6 separate regions of the Homo sapiens genome follow, and all the other regions are linked to region 1. Evidence: promoter capture Hi-C in 16 types of primary human blood cells and fetal thymus (Javierre and others, 2016). All regions are on one chromosome and are shown on one strand. The core of a region is centred on a gene start or on the middle of the fragment in contact, and the rest is flanking DNA. Distances in the headings are between cores, read along the strand shown.

Region 1 (3,037 bases), core at 288-2,787:
CACCGGCCGAGGGAAACTTTTGGTGCCTGCGCTACCTGAACGTGGGGCCCGCGAGCGCTTCTTGCTAAACTACTTGGTGCACTGAGACGCCATCCAGCCTTAGAGGAAGCAGGCGCGAAGTGGGAGGGGGAGGCATCCGACGGGCCCCTCCCGGCTCCGTGGTCAGTAAGAGTCGGGAAACACCCACAACCCCGCCGGCCGGCCGCTCTCCCTCCCATCTTTTAAGCTCTCTTGTCCTCACTGCCTTCGCGCTCCTCCCTGGCCCGCCCCAGGCTGAAATCAGCAGGAGGGCCCAGCAGGGTGAGCTCCGGTCCTGTTCTCGGCCAGCCGGGCACCTCCGAACAATCCCGGATCCACGCGTCCCTCCAGCAAAGGCCACACCGGATTAGGTGTGAAGTTGGCGTGGGCACCCCTAGGCCTGGCTCCAGCTGCACCCATCGGCGGGGTTCCCTTTGAGGTTCAAGGTGCACGGAGTACCAGGAGAGATCCGGACACGGCCCTTTCCACCTTTCTCCCGCCCCCTCCGGGCTCGGCCCTGACCTGGAGAAAGGCCTGCAGCGAGTCGTTCCGGAGGACGGCCACCGCGGCCATGGCTACGGCTTGCAGGCCCCTGGCTGCGGAGCGGGACGCCGCCGCCGAGGCATGGACACCCGAAGGCGAGGACGAAGGGCCGCCCAGCCTGCCTCCCTGGCGCCTGCTCTGAGCGCCGGGGCCCTCCCCGCCCTTGCCCCTCGCCGCGCCCCGCTCGCTCGCCCCGCGCGCGGTCTGAGCGCTTCAGGATCACCTCCAAGAATTTGATAAGGACTTTGCTGGGCCGCCAGCCAGTCAGAGGGAAGATTTATGGCTTTGAAGTTTGCCGCTACCCAATCATCAAAGAATAGCGGCTCTTTCAGAAGCGAAAGCAAATCCTTTGAATCCACAAAGCTCCTATGGTGTGTTTGTTGGTCTGGATAAAAGAACTGATTATTAGGGGGGATGGGAAGGGAGGAGATAAAGGCGGGACAATTAATGAAGTAATCACTATGTGGGAAATGTATATACACAAATAATTGGATTTTCCTGATCAAAGGGGGCCTTGCCGCCTGGAGACCCGCGCTTGGGTTGCTCGAGACACTCTTCCCGCCCCCCCCAACATACACACACACACACACACACACACTTGCAATTAAAGATTTGCACCGACGCAGCGCCCAAAGTGACAAAGTGTCTTTGTTATCTCTGGAAAAATCTGCCTTCGGCTTCCAGGCGCCGGACTTTGAGACGGCAAAGAGTGTAACTCTCCCCTGTATTTACTTGCACACCCTGCACCCTCGCCGCACACGCACCCGCCCGCGCACACAGCGGACCCAAGCGAGATCCCCGGTGGGGCGTGGGACCGACAGCGCCCGGCCCGCCGCGTGTCCCCCGCCCGCCGCGGTGGGGCCGAGGGCAGGGCTGTGACCTGGGGCGGGGCCGGGCGGCCGCCCAGCGCGGCGTTGGGTGGCGCGCACGCTCCAGGGCCGCCCGCCTGACGAGCGACCGGGGCTCTCCTGTGACGTTCCTGCTGGCGACCTGGAAGTTTTCCTCAGGCCACAACTTTTGCAGAGTGGACCTGGGAAAAACACCCGCGCCGCGCATACCCTCAAAGCTGAGCTCGGCAGGACACCCAAGGCGACCCGTCATGCCCACCCGAGGGGAAGAAGCTGTGCTGTCCCGCCCCCTTCTCCCCAGGCCACCCAGGAGGCCCGGGCTGGGCTGTGGGGGGCCGAAAGCCCCAGCGCTGCTGGTGATTTCTCGCCCGGAGCCCCGCCAAGCCAGCGCGCCCTCTCGCAAGCCTGGCAGACCAGGAGCTACTGGAAAAAAGGCGCGGTCGAGGAAGCCTGGTTGTTGTGGTCCCACAAACCACAAATCATACGAGAGAGGATCCCGAAGGCGGGAGAAAAGTCAGTACAGACTTGTTCCTGCCACCTTTGGAAAGAAAAAGTTCCTCACCAGGCGCGGGGCGTGCTTTGCTCTGGGCAGGGTCGCGCTTGCAGGGGCTTGGGTGACCCCCATCCCTCCCTGGCGGCTCACCTCCTGCCGAGGAGGGCCACCTGCCTCCTCCTGGCCCAGGGCGCAGGGCGCGTCCTGCCCCGGCACTGCGGACGCGGGGATCGCCTCTCCCGGGCGCGCGGGCGGGGAAGGAGGAAGAGGCGGGCGGGGAACCGCGGGGTGCTCACCGCCCTGGGGCATTAGGGGTGCGGAACCGCGTTGGAGGCCTCGCGGCCCCGGCTCGCGAGAGCGCACTGCGGAGTGGCCGCCGGAGCTCGGCCTACTCCTCTCCCCCACCCACCTCCCGTCGGACACAGTCTCCACTCTCCAGGCCGCCGGCCGTGGGGGAGCCCCTAATCAGTTCGCGCCCGGCCTCTCTGCCCGTCTTCCTCACGGGAACCGCACTGCGACCGGGACGGACGGGGTGACCTATCTCCCGATGCAGCGTCAGAGGTTAGCCTAACTACAACGGACTCGGAATCTGGACTGTATAAGGATGCCCTCCGCACTTCCATCAGGGGTCGGGGATGCGATGCCTCCGGGCCCACCTTCTCCCACGCCCAGGGCGCGCCTGCGGAATGAGAATATCGTACTCAAGACGGGTGGGCTGCTTGCGACCCAAATACAATGGGTCCCTCGCACATCCTGCACTCGCACGCCCCCTTCTCCCCCAACGAGTTGTCCCCTCTAAAACGCGAGCGGCGACCACACAACTTGGCCGACCCGATCTGGCTTCTGAAGATGAGGTCGGCTGCTCTGGGAGCGGAGAAGGGGAGAGAGCTTAGTGGTTTCATCCGAGGCCTGGCCAACCTGCTCCTTCCCACGCTCCCGTCCAGGATTTGAGTCTTGGAGAAGCGTGAGACTCGAGGGAGCTCTTCCCTGGATGCAAGTCGGAGGCCAGGGAGCCCCTTGGCACACACTCGCGCCTGCACATGCTTGCACCCTCGAAGCGATCTGGTTCCTTAGCGCTGGTTTCCTTTCCAGCTTCTTTGAGATCTTCGAAGTCCCCTTTCCCAGGGAGGCGGGC
Region 2 (3,037 bases), core at 398-2,897, 470 kb after region 1:
TCCCTTATTTGAAGAATTGAAGCACATTCTCCCTTTTCTACTCCTCTAATACTGTTTCTGTTCTCCAGAATTCTAAGAGCACTGATAGTGGGGCAGCAGTCTCACTTGTATATTCCCTCAGCACCTGGAATATCACTCCTCCCCAAAGAAACCTGAACTTATCTGCAACAACCAGGTGCTCTCCTTACAATCCCCTGACCTGGCTTCAGTTTTCTGTCTCCTTTTGCCAATGTTTTGAGCCTTTCCAGGTGGGGCTGGGAAAAAAAATATTATCTGTGGTAGAGGAAATAGCAAAATGGGACTCAATTTTGAATCAATGACCCTAAGTTTAGAACTCTTGCTATTGTCCCTTTATCTGCAGACAAAAAAATTTCTAGAACCCTGGAGAAGGTTGAACCTACTAAGGGGGCTAAAAGGACCCTATAGAAGGAGGCAGCCAAGACCAGTCATACGACTCATCAACCGAGCACAAAACCACCACAAAAACTGATAGAACTGATAGCAAAGGAAAAGTACCATGGCCCTAGTTCTCTTCAGAGGATGACAGCATCACCACTCGTTGTAGACATCATGGCAGTGGAGACTAAGGCCAGCCCTGCTTCCTCATGTGCAGTTCCTGTCACAGCATTCATGTATGTGTGTGAGGGTGAGGTGTATGTGACCGTATCTCTTAAGAGTGTGTCTATTTACAAAGGAGTTGTGACAATGGATACTAATGGCAGAGTCCTTCACATAGATGCAATGTAAGTAGTAGGGACTTCAGAAATCAGCCTTCATTCTCTCTTAATTCCTCATACAATCATCAATCAATCAATTAGCTGAACTTTCAAATGACTGATCTCATGGGTGGCTCTTTTTGAATAGAAGCTTTCAATTCTTCAGCTACAAGGGAAAGAAAATTCCTTACAGTATAAATATGCCCTTGAGATATTTTCCTTGGTAGCATCCAGCATGAATTGAATGCTTACTATGAAATATTCTGACCAATTTACATTCTTTAACTCCCACAATAGCTCTATGAGGTCGACATTACTCAAATCCTCATTTTATAAGGGAGGACACTGACACACACAGACATGCAGTAACTTGGTCAAGTTCACACTGGTGAACTTGAAAGTGATGGAGCTGCTAGTTGAACCCGTGTAGATTGACTGTAGAACACTGTAATAACTTGAGAGCAAAACTGGTCCAATTTTCTGTTCCTTCCTCTATCTGTGCTTAGAACCCTGTCACCAATATGAGAACTACCTCAGGCTAGCCTGCTGGAAGATAAGAAACAACATGGACCAGAGCCAAGTCATCCTAGCCAAGGCTATCCTAGACCAACCAACACAGCCACATTCTCAGCTGATCACAGATGCATGAGCAAGCCCAGCCAAGATCTGCAGAACCACCCAGAGAAACCCATAGACTCATGAAAAATCATAAATGTTTGTTGTTTAAGCAACTAAGTTTGGGGATGGTTTGTTACATACTAGTAGTTAACTGATACAAACAACCATGCTGGACCACTATACTATATTTTCCTTCAAATGATACTGGCTTCACTTGACTCTAGGATCCTCCAGGAATGGATAGCTCCAGCTGTGAAGAACCTTCCTTTAGACTATCACCTCATTGCTCCTCATCCCTGTCTTACCCCTGCCCCTACCATTATGCCAACCCATAAAGGCAGTTATAATTATTCCTCACCTTTATTCCTTAGTTTTTTCTGGAGTAGAGAGGAAACCAGGGTGCCTCAACTCTAGCACAATTTTGAGCTCTGTTTCCTTGCCTACTTCTTTGCCCATCTCTCCATCATTTAGGAGGTGGGTTGGAATTAGCCACAGTCAGTTGTGCCAAAATAATATACCAGGGTAATGAGAAGAAGGCACAGATAGCGCTGGGAATCAACCCCTCGCACCTTTGGCCTGTCTCTCAGGGTGAGCTTCTTACTCAGTAGTGGTGGGGACCCAAAGTCCCTGAAGGCATGCTCCTGCTTTGTCACCTGATCCCCAAATGAAACCTTGCAAAGCTAAATTCTCCCTGCCTGCCAGGACTCAGGCAGGGGGCAGCAAGCAGTACCTACATAGGACTGAATGGCCCCAGCTGCTCAACTCGAATTTAAAAATAATTTGGCAATGTGTTCCACAGAGTGAAAGCCTTCTGGGGCATTTCTGCCAGATGCCTCCAGCTACTGGGTTCCCACGGAAAGGGAGTGTCAAGTCCTGGGCCCAGAAGATATTCTGGGGATCTGGAACAGGGTACATACTGAAGGCAATCCATTAAAAATGGGATTAGAAATCTCTCAAAGAAAGAAAAAGATACATAAAACATAACTGTTTTTCTATTGGAATATTTTAAAACTTTTTTTTTGCTATTAGGCACTCAATAAATGCTAAATGATGCTAATTCTTCTAGCACTTCTTGCTTTATGAGTGAAGCTTGGATCGTGGGGATTCATTGCTCAAAAGGCCAATAGCTAAGTGACCTGGGTTGGTGAAGAGAAACCAATACTCCCCAGGGCAAATCCAGCCTCACTGTGCCATTAAACACTCAGCACCCCTCACTCATTACACTTCAACAATAGTTTAGTTTTAATTTCTTTCCTTTATATTTCACAGCCCTAAAGGAAAATGTCCTGTGACAATTCTGTAATAGTGAGACAATTACTGGTGACTCAGGGCTCCCTGCTGCCTCTGCATCTCACAGCGGAGGAGCAGGCAGAGACTACTGCTTCCCATATAGGAACAATTTGGTTTGTGAATTAGGAAAGTCAGCATCAAAAGGAATCTTAAAAAAAAAAATGCCTATGTAAGATAAAAATTTAGCCCAAGGATCCTATTTCAGGATGAGAGTCGATTGTAGGCACTGAGTCCCTGAGGAAGCTCTTCAAATAGACACACAAATATTTCAAGCAGTGACTTGCCCATCTGCCCCACTACCCACAGCATCCAGGCAGTCCACAAGGATCCAGACCCTGGGTTCCCAAAAATCTGATTTCTCCTTTTTGTTATCCAAACTCTCTCCGTTTCACCTTTACCGATAAATGAGGAGG
Region 3 (3,037 bases), core at 158-2,657, 400 kb after region 1:
ATATGACTCTTACTTATTTGACCCCAAGTTTGGCCAAAATCTTCAAGACAAGGAAATTTCGCTTGAGACCACTCACATCATGGGGTACAGCCCAATAACCACATCAGCATCCTAGCTTCCAGTTCTTCCCAGTCCTAGCCCTCCCCATCCTATTGGCTCATAGCCCTGAACATCTCCTTCACCATGTGCCACCAATTCCTAGTCCTGGATCTGCATTGACTACAAGGTATTAAGGACTATAATATTTAGTTAAATCAGTGTGTCAGTGGAATAATTTAGAAAGTAGTAAAAGAGAATCTCTAGTTAACCATTAACATGGTATTAAGACAAACCCTGGTGAAGTAAACAGACCAGATTTTTCAGTCCCATTTGGTCAATCTAAGGAAAGTCTAAGCAAAGATGAATATAAACTGTCCAGTGCTCTCTCTCTACTCTCCAAACTTGTATGCAACTAGTTAGTTTCCCAATGACAACTAATGATGCTTTATATTTTACAAAGCACTGTCACAAATGTATTTCATTCAATCCTCAAAATGACCCTATGACCTAGGTAAGGTGGCATGATTACTCTTATTTCACAGACGAGAAAACAAACTTGAGGAAAATAAAGGACATATCCAAGGTCACTCTATTATTTGGGTGAAAAGTAGCAGTTATAAACTAATTTTTCTTGCTTTCAACTCACTGAGTTTTTCAATGCGTCCCATGAATCAGTAGTCCCATGAGAAATCCTGTGACCAAAAATTTAGAAAATGGTGAAGATTTTATCACGATAAAAACTCTAGGAAATCCTGCAGTAAAGCATCTGGTTACCTTTGTTTTCCACAATGTTTCTCACACTTCTCTGATCATGGAACCTCCTTTTTAAGAATAAATTCCCACAGAATTTTGAAAAACACTACCCTATAGTAAGCTGCCTCATGGGAAGCACAGGGAATGCCAGCTTGAGTAAGGTTAGGGCTCCTTGGAGAAATACTCTCCTCTTAGCAACCTCCGGTCTTTCACCAAACATTTCCTCCTATCTGCAAACAGAAGAGGACTCTGGTGATGGGGCAAACTAGAGTATTAGGATGAGGATAAGGGACAAATCAAAATACACAGATACACTTACTATCAGATCTGAAATCTTCCCAAAATGGCCCTAACTCCATGTTTTTCAAAACAGAGTTTACAGCCCTTTGCATAGAATCATCCAGGAAATTTGGTGAACACAAAGAGTCCCAGACTATCACAGACCTAATGAAACAGAACCTCTGGGAACAGGGCCCAGGAATCTGCATTTTAACAAGTTCGCTAGGCAACTGTGACATAACTAGAATTTGGGAAACAGACTTATGTAGTCAACAACAGATGTGAGATACTTTTCCAATTAAATCAAAGTCACAAACCAAAATGCAAATCGCCCAAGATGCATCCAGTGGGGGACTATTTGGTTTCTCGGTAATAACCACATCTCAATGAGACCAGCCTTCCTGGGGAAGGCTATTCCATGGTCTATCAGATCTTTTCATTAGGGAAACTTCCCTGCTATTCCATCTAAGTAGTTTTTCTTAATTTGATCCTATTACTTCCATGCTTTATACAAAGATGAGTATAGCAGTTATCCTCAATAAACAAAAATGCAATACAAATGACACTCCAGGCTCATGTTTCCATCCAATGGCCACATCTCTTTACAAAGTGAGAGTCAATGCAGGTGTCTGCAGCCAGCTTCTATAGGTCCCAAATTTTGATTTAGATGAGCAGTGCCATCTTCAGTGTCAAATGTGTAGCCATCAGTGGCACCATTCTCGCAAACAGATGGCATGCTCACAGCACCTCACCCACATTACAACAATTGGGACTCAGAGGACTGTTCAAGATGGAGGCACTTAAGGAATTAGAATGTGACCATAACTATCGACTGAGTTATAGATACTGTGATTTTCTGGCCTTAGGAAAAGGACCATGAATAAGATAACATTAGTCTCATGACCATCAAATGGAATAAGCCAAGGCAGCAGAAGACATTTTGTTCACACATCAGGAAGTACCTGCTGACTAGCTAGATTATTAGGAAAGGCAATAAACTGCCAAAATAGGTGGCATGGCATCCTCCATAGGTCATTAAAAACAGTAATATGATCTTCTAAGATTTCCTGCCCAGGCATAAGTGGGTAGATAAGATGACCTTTTCAGATTTTAAAATGAAGATTTTATGAGTATTCAGAAGATGCAGTGAGGGAAAATTGCTCTTAGGAACAAAAACAAATTCTTTGGAAGAGGAAATGATTCATTTAAAGACCATTTTAAGAACTTCAGCTGATTTTCCTAGAAATACCTTGGTTTCAGAGTAATTTGGAAATAATTCAGTAAATTGTTATATCTAAAATAATTAATTAGCTTTTAAAGTCAGATACTTCATTAATACACACACATATGTACATATACTTCATTAATACACACACATTTATATGTGTCTATATGCATATGCATGTATGGCTGAAGTTTTGAAGATCATAACACTGTGAGATATGGGAATATGGAATACTAGGCCAATTATTTCATCTAAGAACACAATAACAATCAATAGTAATCATGCCAGTAAAAAATAATCCACTAAATCAGCTTTGGAATCATCTCTGAAATAGCCCAGACATGTGTCATTTTGAGATCACATTTGCATTGATCTGCCTAGATCCTAGGAGACAAAGAATGTGATTTTTTCCAGATATCTGTCAGGATCAGGGTTCCAGTCACAGAGATAAGCTAAGGCTAGGAGAGCCTGCAGAGTGTGGGCTCTGAAGTCAGATTGCCTGGGTTCATATTCCAGTTCTAGTGCTTACTATCTTCATCAGCCTGGGCAATTTCCTAACTCCTCTAAGCCTCAGTTGTATCATATGTAAAATGCGATAGCAATGGTACATATATTACAGAAATCAAATGAGTGTTAAATAAAATGATTCATGTAAAACATTTAACACTGTCAAACATGAAGTAAACATTCAATAGGCAATAGTTAAAATTACCCCTATTATTAAGAATTATAAGGCCGGGC
Region 4 (3,037 bases), core at 357-2,856, 380 kb after region 1:
ATTCAGGGCAACTGCTTATACCCATTTGAATGTCATTTAGAGGGCTAGGAAAGACTGCTTCAACATTTGATGACTAAATGGCAGGGCTCAGCCACAATGCTCACTCCGAGAAATGAGAAATAGACACACCAGTATGCTAGATGCTGATGCAGTTCAGGAAATGCTACCCCAAAATATGGCCCCTCAGCATACTGAGTATTTTAAGCAGAAGGCAATTAAGAAAACCACAAAAACAGAAAGGTCCCTCTGACCTTCTCCCACCCTCTCTCTCTTGAAGATCCTCATGTGACAGGTGACCTGCCATATAATCAGAAGGAAGAAATGTTACACAGAGAGGCTGAGAAGAATCTGAGGACTTGCTAAGTTTTCCCCAGTTTATTACCATTAGATCATATGCCTTTTTTGTTCAATCATACTTCTATACAACTGTCCATCATTCATTAAACCTAACCACAAAAGTAGTTTTCACTCGGTTTTTGAGTGAAGGCTCCTGTGTCACATAAAACTTACATTAAATAAATTTGTTCCACTTTTCTTTTGTTAATCTGTCTTTTGTTATAGGAATGTCAGCCATTAACCTCACAGTAGGTGATGAAAAGATATTACTTTTTCTCCCCTATACTACCCAAGCCAGCCACCTCAAGAAAGAACAGTTCATGTGCAGGTGACCATGTAGTTCAAGTCATCATTAAATCCAAAGCTGAGCAGCCGTGATGCTATTGGTGGAATTGCCCTTGACCAAGAGAAATCCATCTTGATTGTCTCAATAATCGGCTCAAGGACCACTGATGATGAGGTCCTAAATTTAATTCCTAAAAAACCACTAAAGTTATAGAGGCAAAATGAGAAAGCATAGCTCACAAATACCTTGTGACCAATGACTTGGTAAGTATTTTTGTAGTTGATTCCAAAGACCTGAAATTAGCTTGAACTTAAAAAGAAAAGTGACATCCATTAGGACCAAGGTGAAGTTGACAAAATGAAAATTATTTTTATCTTATCAAAAGGCTACTTCTGAATGGAGCCTCCTGACAAAGCAGAAGTCTGGCTGGTACTTGAACCAGATAAACTTGTTATGCAAATAGCTTTAGTCGTAGGGGAAAGGGCTGATAATGAAATCTCTACAAAGCCAACCACACATTATAGAGGTGACAAAACACATCAAGCAGGGTCCTAGCATATGGATGAAAAGCAGTGCAGAATTTATGTGAGCATTGCATTTAATTTATCATAACTAAGCTGTCAGGAATCATGCTTTGACAAACGCATAACTAATGAATATAAATGAATCAATTATCACTAACAACCAAAGCTTCAGAACCAAACAGGCTGATGCTTCTTTTAAAACCCCCAAACAGGTTTACTAATAGTATTTCAGACTTTTAGATGTTTTAAAAAATCTCTCTTACTATCTCTAAATTAAGGAGGCTGGAAATAAATCTGAAACACACTAAGCCACATCCCCAGTGCTCCTGATTTCCTGCCTTCCTGGCCCTCCTACACGCGTATGCACGTGCACACACACACCCCACTGTGCCCTGTCTACATAGCTATAATCACTAGGCTGCAGCCAGACCAACTTGTTCAGATCCCTGCAGCAGTCAATACGAAATCTTTTGGTGGGTAGTGACCAGCATGGACTAAAAAAGACCTAGAGTATTGAATCGACTCTGTTACGGCTCAGTAGTCACATGAGGACAAAGTATTAAAGGTCTTAAAGCCGTTAAGGAACTTTTTGTCCTATTTATTCTTTAAAGAGAAACAGTTAGATTTACTATGTCTTGGTTTACAAAGGGAACTGAAGCAATTATCTGTATAATTCAGGTTAAAAGAAACTTTTCCTAAAATTACCAGATAATCATCTTCTCCAGCCCAGTCCCTCCAATAATGAAAAGCTTATAATCTGAAGGTCTTAATCCTCCATCTTTCTTTCCCTTGACTCCTAATATGAGCAAGATAAGTATAAAAACAAACTAAGGCTCTCTCTTTAAATAGACATTTCAAACCCAGTGAATATCATTGTTTATACTGAATTAGAGATTTGAATAAATATAATGCACAGCATTTGGTCAAACTGCATTTGATAGGCTGAGTAATGGCAGCCTAGTATCAGCAGTCTCCTCTACAGAATGAAAGGATATTATTTGGGGCTGGGCTCAGTGGCTCACACCTGTAAATCCCAGCACTTTGGGAGGCTGAGGTGGGCAGATCACTTGAGGTCAGGAGTTCGAGACTAACCTGGCCAACATGGTGAAACCCCATCTCTGCTAAAAATGTAAAAACTAGCTGGTCCTGGTGGCACACACCTGTAATTCCAGCTACTTGGGAGGCTGAGGCACAAGAATCATTTGATCCCGGGAGGCCAAGGTTGCAGTGAGCCAAGATCATGCCACTGTACTCCAGCCTGGGCAACACAGTGAGACTCTGTCTCAAAACAAACAAACAAAAAAAAGAAAGTATATTATTTGGGAATGGTGGGCAGGCTTCTATTTAAAGATATATAATATAATAATCAGTTCCCAATTTTGAGAAATATTCCCAAAAATATTGCAGAAGAATTTATGGTTGAAGCACCTAAGATGTTATGGGAAAACAGGATTGGAGGGCTGAGGTCAAGAAGGAATCTATAAACACCTATTATATAAAATTTTTCACTAATAAAAAACCGTAAAGACAACTCATTAAACAAAAAAGAAGACTGATGACATATTTCCATCTTAAACTAGTACTAAACCACATAATCACTTAATTTCTAATTGCCTTCCTGACTCATTATAAACTTTCCAGACTCTCCCTCCCTTGCAATTACAACAGGATGCTTTTTGCTTTGCTCCTGACAGTATGCATACTCAAAGGCATTGTTTTCTGTGTTTAGCCCTCCATTCTAGTATTCAAGACCTTTTGCAACTCAGAATGAGTGCATCTGAAATTCTCAGAATTGGGAAAAACATAGCAGATTTGAATTGGCATATAATAGGATTTGCCATAAGGAACTATCTTAGGGAGGAATTTCTGCATAGTTGACCCTTGAACAACA
Region 5 (3,037 bases), core at 206-2,705, 300 kb after region 1:
ATGATTTTATATTATGATTGCACATATACACACCGAGGTTGATCCTCTCAACCTTGATAAGAAATTAAATCAAGCCCCAGTAGTGTCATGCGCCATGTACATTTTGGTCAACAATGGACTGCATATAAACTGGTGGTCCTGTAACATTATCATACCATAGTTGTACTGTACCTTTTCTATGTTTAGATATGTTTAGATACACAAATACTTGGCATTGTCTTACAATTAACTACAACATTCAGTATAGTAACATACTGTACAGGTTTACAGCCCGAGAACAGTAGACTACAACATATAGCCTAGATGTATAGTAGATTATATCATTTAGGTTTGTGTAAGAACTCTATGATGTTTGTACAACGATGAAATCAACTAACGATGCATTTCTCAGAATGCATCCCCATCATTAAGCTATGCATGACTATACTTTTTTTGATATATACTAATGAAGGGAATGTTACCTGCCCAGCAACCCAGAGAGGAGGTAACTTGAAAGAACAGGAAAGTGATCCTGGGGCTGTTTTGAAAGCAAAGGACAGTGGCAATCTAGCTACCAGAAAACCTCAAGTTAACTGTCAGGAATCCTTCGATAAAGAAATTAAAGTTTTTCTTTGCATTTAAACAATTTTAATTCTAATTTTTTTTCAGAGATGGGGGGTGTCACTGTGTTGCCCAGACCGGCCTTGAACTCCTGGGCTCAAGTGATTCTCCTGCCTCAGCCTCCTGAGTAGCTGGGACTCTAGCCATGCGCTACCACATCAAGCTTTTTTTTTCTCTTTGTATTTTAAGGGGTCTTCTCTATCTTTTGGAGAAAAAAACCCAACATTACTATGACACAGAATGCACACACAAAAAAGTATGCAAAACATAAATGTACAGCATAATAAATATAATGCAAGCATACATGTAACCACCACCAAGATCAGGAGCCAGACCACTGCCAACATCTCTTAGGGGTCTTCCTAACAAACGTCTTCTCCTCTTTCAAAATTGAGGAGTCCAGCACTGGACCTCCTTTTATGCTTTGAGCTAATTGCCTCTAAGGTTTCCCAAGTTTTTTTTTTTTTTTTTTTCTTTTTTTTTGTTGAGACGGAGTCTTGCACTGTTCCCAGGCTGGAGTGCAATGGCATGGTCTTGGCTCACCGCAACCTCCACCTCCTGGGTTCAAGCAATTCTCCTGCTCCAGACTCCCTAGTAGCTGGGATTACAGGTGCCCGCCACCACACCCGGCTAATTTTTTGTATTTTTAGTAGAGACGGGGTTTCACTATGTTGGCCAGGCTGGTCTCGAACTCCTGACCTCGTGATCCACCCACCTTGTGATCCGCCTGCCTCGGCCTCCCAAAGTGCTGGGATTACAGGCGTGAGCCACCGCGCCTGGCCTCAACTTTGATCTTTTTCCTTCCTCCCTGTAGTTCATTCCTCAAAAGAGGTTTGTAAAGTAATTGACCATAATATATATGCTTACTGAACTAGTGCTCCATTTAATTTCGATAAAACAATTAAAGCAAGGAAAAATAAAAGTGACAAGAAAATGGTTTCTTATGCATTGAAAATATTAGCATATTCTTTTCCAAAGTGCCAGGATAGTGTGGGATCTTGCTTCTAGTGGGAACATCAAGATGTATAGGCACCTTCCCCTTCACGAGAGGGACATGCCTGAAACAAGCATTGGCAAAGAACAGCATAACTTATTTCTGTCCAGTGAGGTTTCCCATCTTCAAAGGCTGTAACATAATAACCCCCAAAAATATAGACTATGAACGTTTTAAAATTTAGAAAAGTAATATTCTGACATTCAACACAGGATGCACAATCATGTTAGAATCGAGGTTTGAGGGCAACTATTGTCATAAGGAGATAAATTAGTGCCCAATTCTGTATAGAAAATTCCATATAGAAAATGAAGTTAAAAGAAAGTTCTAGTTGGTGTACGGCAAAGCCGTATTACCTTTACTCCTATATTTCCCTCGTTGCCTAAAAAGTACCTTATTACTAGAAGCTGTTCTTTAAATGTTTGTTGATTGAATTCATTCCTACATAAATAATTCCAGAAAAAGAAAACACAATCATGCTTATAAGTTTTGATGTTTGTGGCTTCTTAACTATACTCAAAATGTGGAGAATCCTAAGCTATACTCAAGCTTAGGATCTCAAAGGAAATTACTATGCATAATATATAGCTCAGGAATACTGGGAAGCCTATTGGTACATCACGTTTGTGTCTAGTCTTATTTTTCACTTTTGTTTCTATCAAGTGGTGTGGAGTGTAGTTTCAAAACAAGATTCAGAAACAAGAGGAAAGCTCTTTGGGAGGGGTAAAAAAGACGCAGCGGCGGAGGTTATCTCTTTGTTCCTGTTCCTCCCGCAGTTGGGTGAATCAAGGGAGAACAGAGACCGGCTGCAGGGCCTTACTTTCTGCATAGCGCCCCCTAGTGGTCCAGGCTGTTAAATGGTTTTTATTTTGCCAAAGGTTGAAAAATCGGAAATTCCGAAGTTGTGAACAGATTTGACAAGTCGTTATTAATATTTGTGGGAGGATGTAAATGCCAGCTGAAGAGTTATTTGGATAGATTTTTTTCCCAGAGAGCATGTCCCCTATCAATAATGGCTGTCTCTTCACCTCTGTGCTGAAGTCGCCTGATGAGGAGTCTACATCCCTGGGTCTCTGGTAAGGAAACACCAGATAGCCCTTTCCACACCTGCCCCGAGCTCCTGGGATTCCATATTGAATTAAACCCCGGCTGCTCCAAGGAAGGTCTGGAATGGAAGCTGGAGGGCAGCCTTCTGATGGGCACTGCTACTAGTTCTGTTTACAGGAGCATGTCTGAAAAAAGAGCCGGATTTCAACTTTCCTTCCAAGTTAAGATGAAGCAAAGGCTGTAGACTGTGGCTTTTTTTTTTTTCTTAGCCAGGCTTTTCATTCCTCTGCAAGCTGCTAAAAATCAGACCTGGCAGCCAGTTAAGAGGGATGTGGGAAGAAAAGAAGAGGAAATAGTGAACAATGAACAGTGATAAAAAGGTTTCTCTTCCTCTTT
Region 6 (3,037 bases), core at 210-2,709, 290 kb after region 1:
GGTAAGGGGGACAGTTTTGAAATAGGGGACCTTTTGTTTAATGATGCTCATGTTATTCATACTTTGAAATAATACAGTAAAGGCCTTCTATGGGTCTTATAAAGATGAATAGAATGCAATTAGTATATATGAGGGATTCATTCTAGTACCCCCTAGTATACCAAAACCTACGCACTCAGCCCTGAAGAACCCACATATATGAAAAGTTGGCCCTCCATATATGCAGTTTTGCATCCAACCAATATTGTATTTTTTATCTGCATTTGTTTGAAAAAAAAAAAAAAAACCTGTGTATAAGTGGACCTGCACAGTTCAAACCAACATTGTTCAAGAGCCAACTATACAGTTCTTTGTTTTAAGGAGAAGACAGCCCAGAGAAGCTCTTGGGGGGAAGGGGAAAGGCTGACATATAAACAATTCATTGCGATTGAAACTGGTGAGTGTTAGAATAAATCTCTGAATAAAGTGACACAAGGGGACAGAATACTAAGTTTTCATGAGAGGATGAGGAAAACAAAAACTGAAGAGTAGTCAATGAATGAGCTAGATTGTGAAAGCTTAACATGAGTTTGACAGGAAATGGAAGGTATTCTATCTGAAAGACATGCGCAAGACAGATACAGAATGTAAACCTGAGGGTTCCAGAGAGTTCCAGAGAGCTTGTAAGACAAATTTCTAGGAGGCTTCTTATTTTAAAATTAGACATTTAATAATAGCATTAAAACATTTATTATTTTACCCTTGCAAACATAAAAACAAGTTACTCACCACTCCCTTCCAGTGAAAATACCACCTGTGGGGACAGTTTTAGGGGGAAGAAAATATGGGGAAGAAGGCTTTGCTAAGGTATCATAAGTCACTGGTGGGACTGGGAACAAAAGCTTGTTCTGCTCTTCAGGTGGCCTTCAGGTAGAATGCCCATTCATCTGTGTGGCCAAAGGTGGATGGTTTGGATACGAGCTACTAGGAGACTCATTCCAGTTAAAATAGTGCTGATATGGCCAAAGTCTTAAGTAAAATCTCATATGGGTCAGGTAGTTTCATACAGAGAAGTTACATTCCACAGTCTAAGAATAGAATCCTAAATAAAATGCTCAGGCAGGAGCAAATCAACTGATCACTGCAAATTAAAAAATCCCTCCCTAGAAGATTTGCACAACATACCTTATCTATTGGTGGTAGGTCAGTCATATAATTTCCCGCAACACCTATGCTTCCTTGTGTTTTTAAGCCTGAGAAAGTTACACAGGGCTTCAGCAAACAAGACGCTGTTAGCTTCCCATTGTGCAGGATTATGATTCAGTGCTTGGAACTATAACTGCTTTTTTGAGTTTCCCTCTTTAGCATGGAAGCAATGAAAAGGACACTGGAAAGTGAGAAACTTGGATTCCTATCCCACACCTGCCACTGACTTAAGGAGATCATGTCTACTCTTTATGACTCATTTGTATTATATGTCAAATGAGGAGTTTGAGAAGATCAGTGGTTCTGCACTTGTGTGTCATGGCATTCCGTCATGGTGTCCATAATGAACACCCTTTGTGGCTATGTAGCTTCACCTAGATCAATGCCAGGCATGTGGTGTAGATGGGGGTGGACTGTTCTCTGAAATGGAACTACAACGAACAGTGTGTAATGTCAACCTGGTGCCAAAATAAAATATTGTGTGATATCTGTGGCCAGGACATGTGTGAGCTTTACCTAAGCTATAAATCAGAGAGCTAATCAAGGAAGTAAACAGTATTGTTCAAAAATCAACAACACGCTGAACAACAAGGAAACACGTAAGTGCAATAACTAGATGCAAGTTGGAGTAAAAAAAGTTAAGTATTGTTAGGCTTCCATCCAGCTCTGAAATTTTATCTATAGTTGTGAAATATCTCCTAAAAGACCCCTGAAGTGGGGGAAATAAGAAAGAACAAAATAAAGACAATAAAACTAAAATCTGCAAAATGTATTATTTCTTAGCAGTTCAGTAGGCAACAGAAGAAGTGGGTGGTGATGATAGCCTCGCTTAGATAAATGGAGGAAGCTTAGATAGTGGTTTTACAGAGGCCTGGATATTTAATTTGCCAATGTTCTCTTCACAGCTAACACAGGCAACCAGCAATGGCTCTGTTGCTATGATCTCTTCAGTTATTCCTCCTCCTTTACTTTGCTATTGTGGCTAAGGTAAGCTTATTCAGTTCTCTAATTTTTTAATATCATTCTTGTTTCTTAGCACGTGAGAGGAGACAGAGGCATAGTTTTTTGCTCCCTTTCTGCAATGTTTTTAAGATTAATGAATTCAAGGTGTTCATTTTTCAACATCTTTATAACATCTATTCTCCTAGTAAAACATTATGCTTCTGTTTGCATATTGGCAAGTACCAGCCATTTTGAAAAACTGGGTGCTAATGTGAAGGCAATAATCACTTATACGAGCTTTTTTTTCCTATTGGGTCTCTGAAAGTACTCAAGGGTAGCTTTTGATATATAGGTATCCAAGTCTAATTTTCACATTTACCAGTTATTTTTGTTATATTTTAAAGAATGACTATTCCATGTCACTAGCTCTTTTATAAAAGAACCTAGTATAAACATCCATGTATATGTATATATCCTTGGGAAAAACTATAGCAACTTAAGAATCCAGAAAATAAGGAGAGGCATACTGAAATAGGTAGTATTCCACAGGAAACCAAACTTGCATGTGCCCAATTGGCCAGCATTACTCATATCTAAACTACATTGTTATAATGTTTCTGAACACCCATGCACACACATTTCTTATAGATATATGTATAACCCGTTCATAAAACGCCAGTGCCCAGAAACACTTCTTCCATTGAAATTTATATGTTTCATGGTGTTAAAGAATGAAGTTAATGTAACTTACATTCTTAAGCACAGGCATTGATTTTTGGAGACCTTGGCTTTATGGAACTGTAATGCTGTATTATCCAAACTAACTGATTTCAAAAAGACTTTCTAAATTAAAGTATTATCTGACAGACTTGCGATGCAATTACTGATTTTTTTTTGAAAGAGTGAAACC

Evidence for each region. The method cuts DNA at HindIII sites, captures the fragments that hold promoters and counts their contacts. A CHiCAGO score of 5 or more calls a contact.
Region 2: a fragment that was not itself captured here is called in contact with the fragment with the promoter of LINC01124 in region 1 in 1 of 17 cell types (megakaryocytes); the score reaches 5.1 in megakaryocytes.
Region 3: a contact is called between a fragment that was not itself captured here and the fragment with the promoter of LINC01124 in region 1, in 1 of 17 cell types (megakaryocytes). The highest score is 6.3, in megakaryocytes.
Region 4: a fragment that was not itself captured here is called in contact with the fragment with the promoter of LINC01124 in region 1 in 1 of 17 cell types (megakaryocytes); the score reaches 5.3 in megakaryocytes.
Region 5: a contact is called between a fragment that was not itself captured here and the fragment with the promoter of LINC01124 in region 1, in 12 of 17 cell types (endothelial precursors, naive CD4 T cells, fetal thymus and 9 more). The highest score is 12.3, in endothelial precursors.
Region 6: a contact is called between a fragment that was not itself captured here and the fragment with the promoter of LINC01124 in region 1, in 9 of 17 cell types (endothelial precursors, non-activated CD4 T cells, M2 macrophages and 6 more). The highest score is 8.8, in endothelial precursors.

Annotation. Positions count from the first base shown.
Region 1 is chr2:170,713,067-170,716,103 of GRCh38, reverse strand. LINC01124 (long intergenic non-protein coding RNA 1124) reads left to right here and starts at 1,537. Exons shown (of 1, transcript NR_027433.1): 1 at 1,537-3,037. SP5 (Sp5 transcription factor) reads right to left here and starts at 767. Exons shown (of 2, transcript NM_001003845.3): 1 at 541-767. The coding sequence starts at 591. All of the region lies in intron 5 of ERICH2-DT (ERICH2 divergent transcript), which reads left to right. RefSeq lists enhancers at 1-393, 394-1,183 and a silencer at 1,401-1,450. The HindIII fragment of the contact is 7,273 bases long and covers 1-3,037 here.
Region 2 is chr2:170,241,574-170,244,610 of GRCh38, reverse strand. The region is part of intron 7 of MYO3B (myosin IIIB); the gene reads right to left. Among named protein-coding and RNA genes, the nearest start is that of MYO3B, 65 kb to the right of the region's middle. The HindIII fragment of the contact is 1,556 bases long and covers 870-2,425 here.
Region 3 is chr2:170,315,598-170,318,634 of GRCh38, reverse strand. The region is part of intron 7 of MYO3B (myosin IIIB); the gene reads right to left. Among named protein-coding and RNA genes, the nearest start is that of MYO3B-AS1, 34 kb to the left of the region's middle. The HindIII fragment of the contact is 4,137 bases long and covers 1-3,037 here.
Region 4 is chr2:170,338,015-170,341,051 of GRCh38, reverse strand. The region is part of intron 8 of MYO3B (myosin IIIB); the gene reads right to left. It overlaps MYO3B-AS1 (MYO3B antisense RNA 1), which reads left to right. Exons shown (of 4, transcript NR_110576.1): 4 at 1-535. It overlaps LOC124906090 (a long non-coding RNA gene), which reads left to right and starts at 804. Exons shown (of 4, transcript XR_007087292.1): 1 at 804-885. RefSeq lists an enhancer at 201-765. The HindIII fragment of the contact is 583 bases long and covers 1,315-1,897 here.
Region 5 is chr2:170,408,629-170,411,665 of GRCh38, reverse strand. All of the region lies in intron 22 of MYO3B (myosin IIIB), which reads right to left. Among named protein-coding and RNA genes, the nearest start is that of MYO3B-AS1, 59 kb to the right of the region's middle. The HindIII fragment of the contact is 1,380 bases long and covers 766-2,145 here.
Region 6 is chr2:170,427,260-170,430,296 of GRCh38, reverse strand. The region is part of intron 22 of MYO3B (myosin IIIB); the gene reads right to left. Among named protein-coding and RNA genes, the nearest start is that of MYO3B-AS1, 78 kb to the right of the region's middle. The HindIII fragment of the contact is 1,151 bases long and covers 884-2,034 here.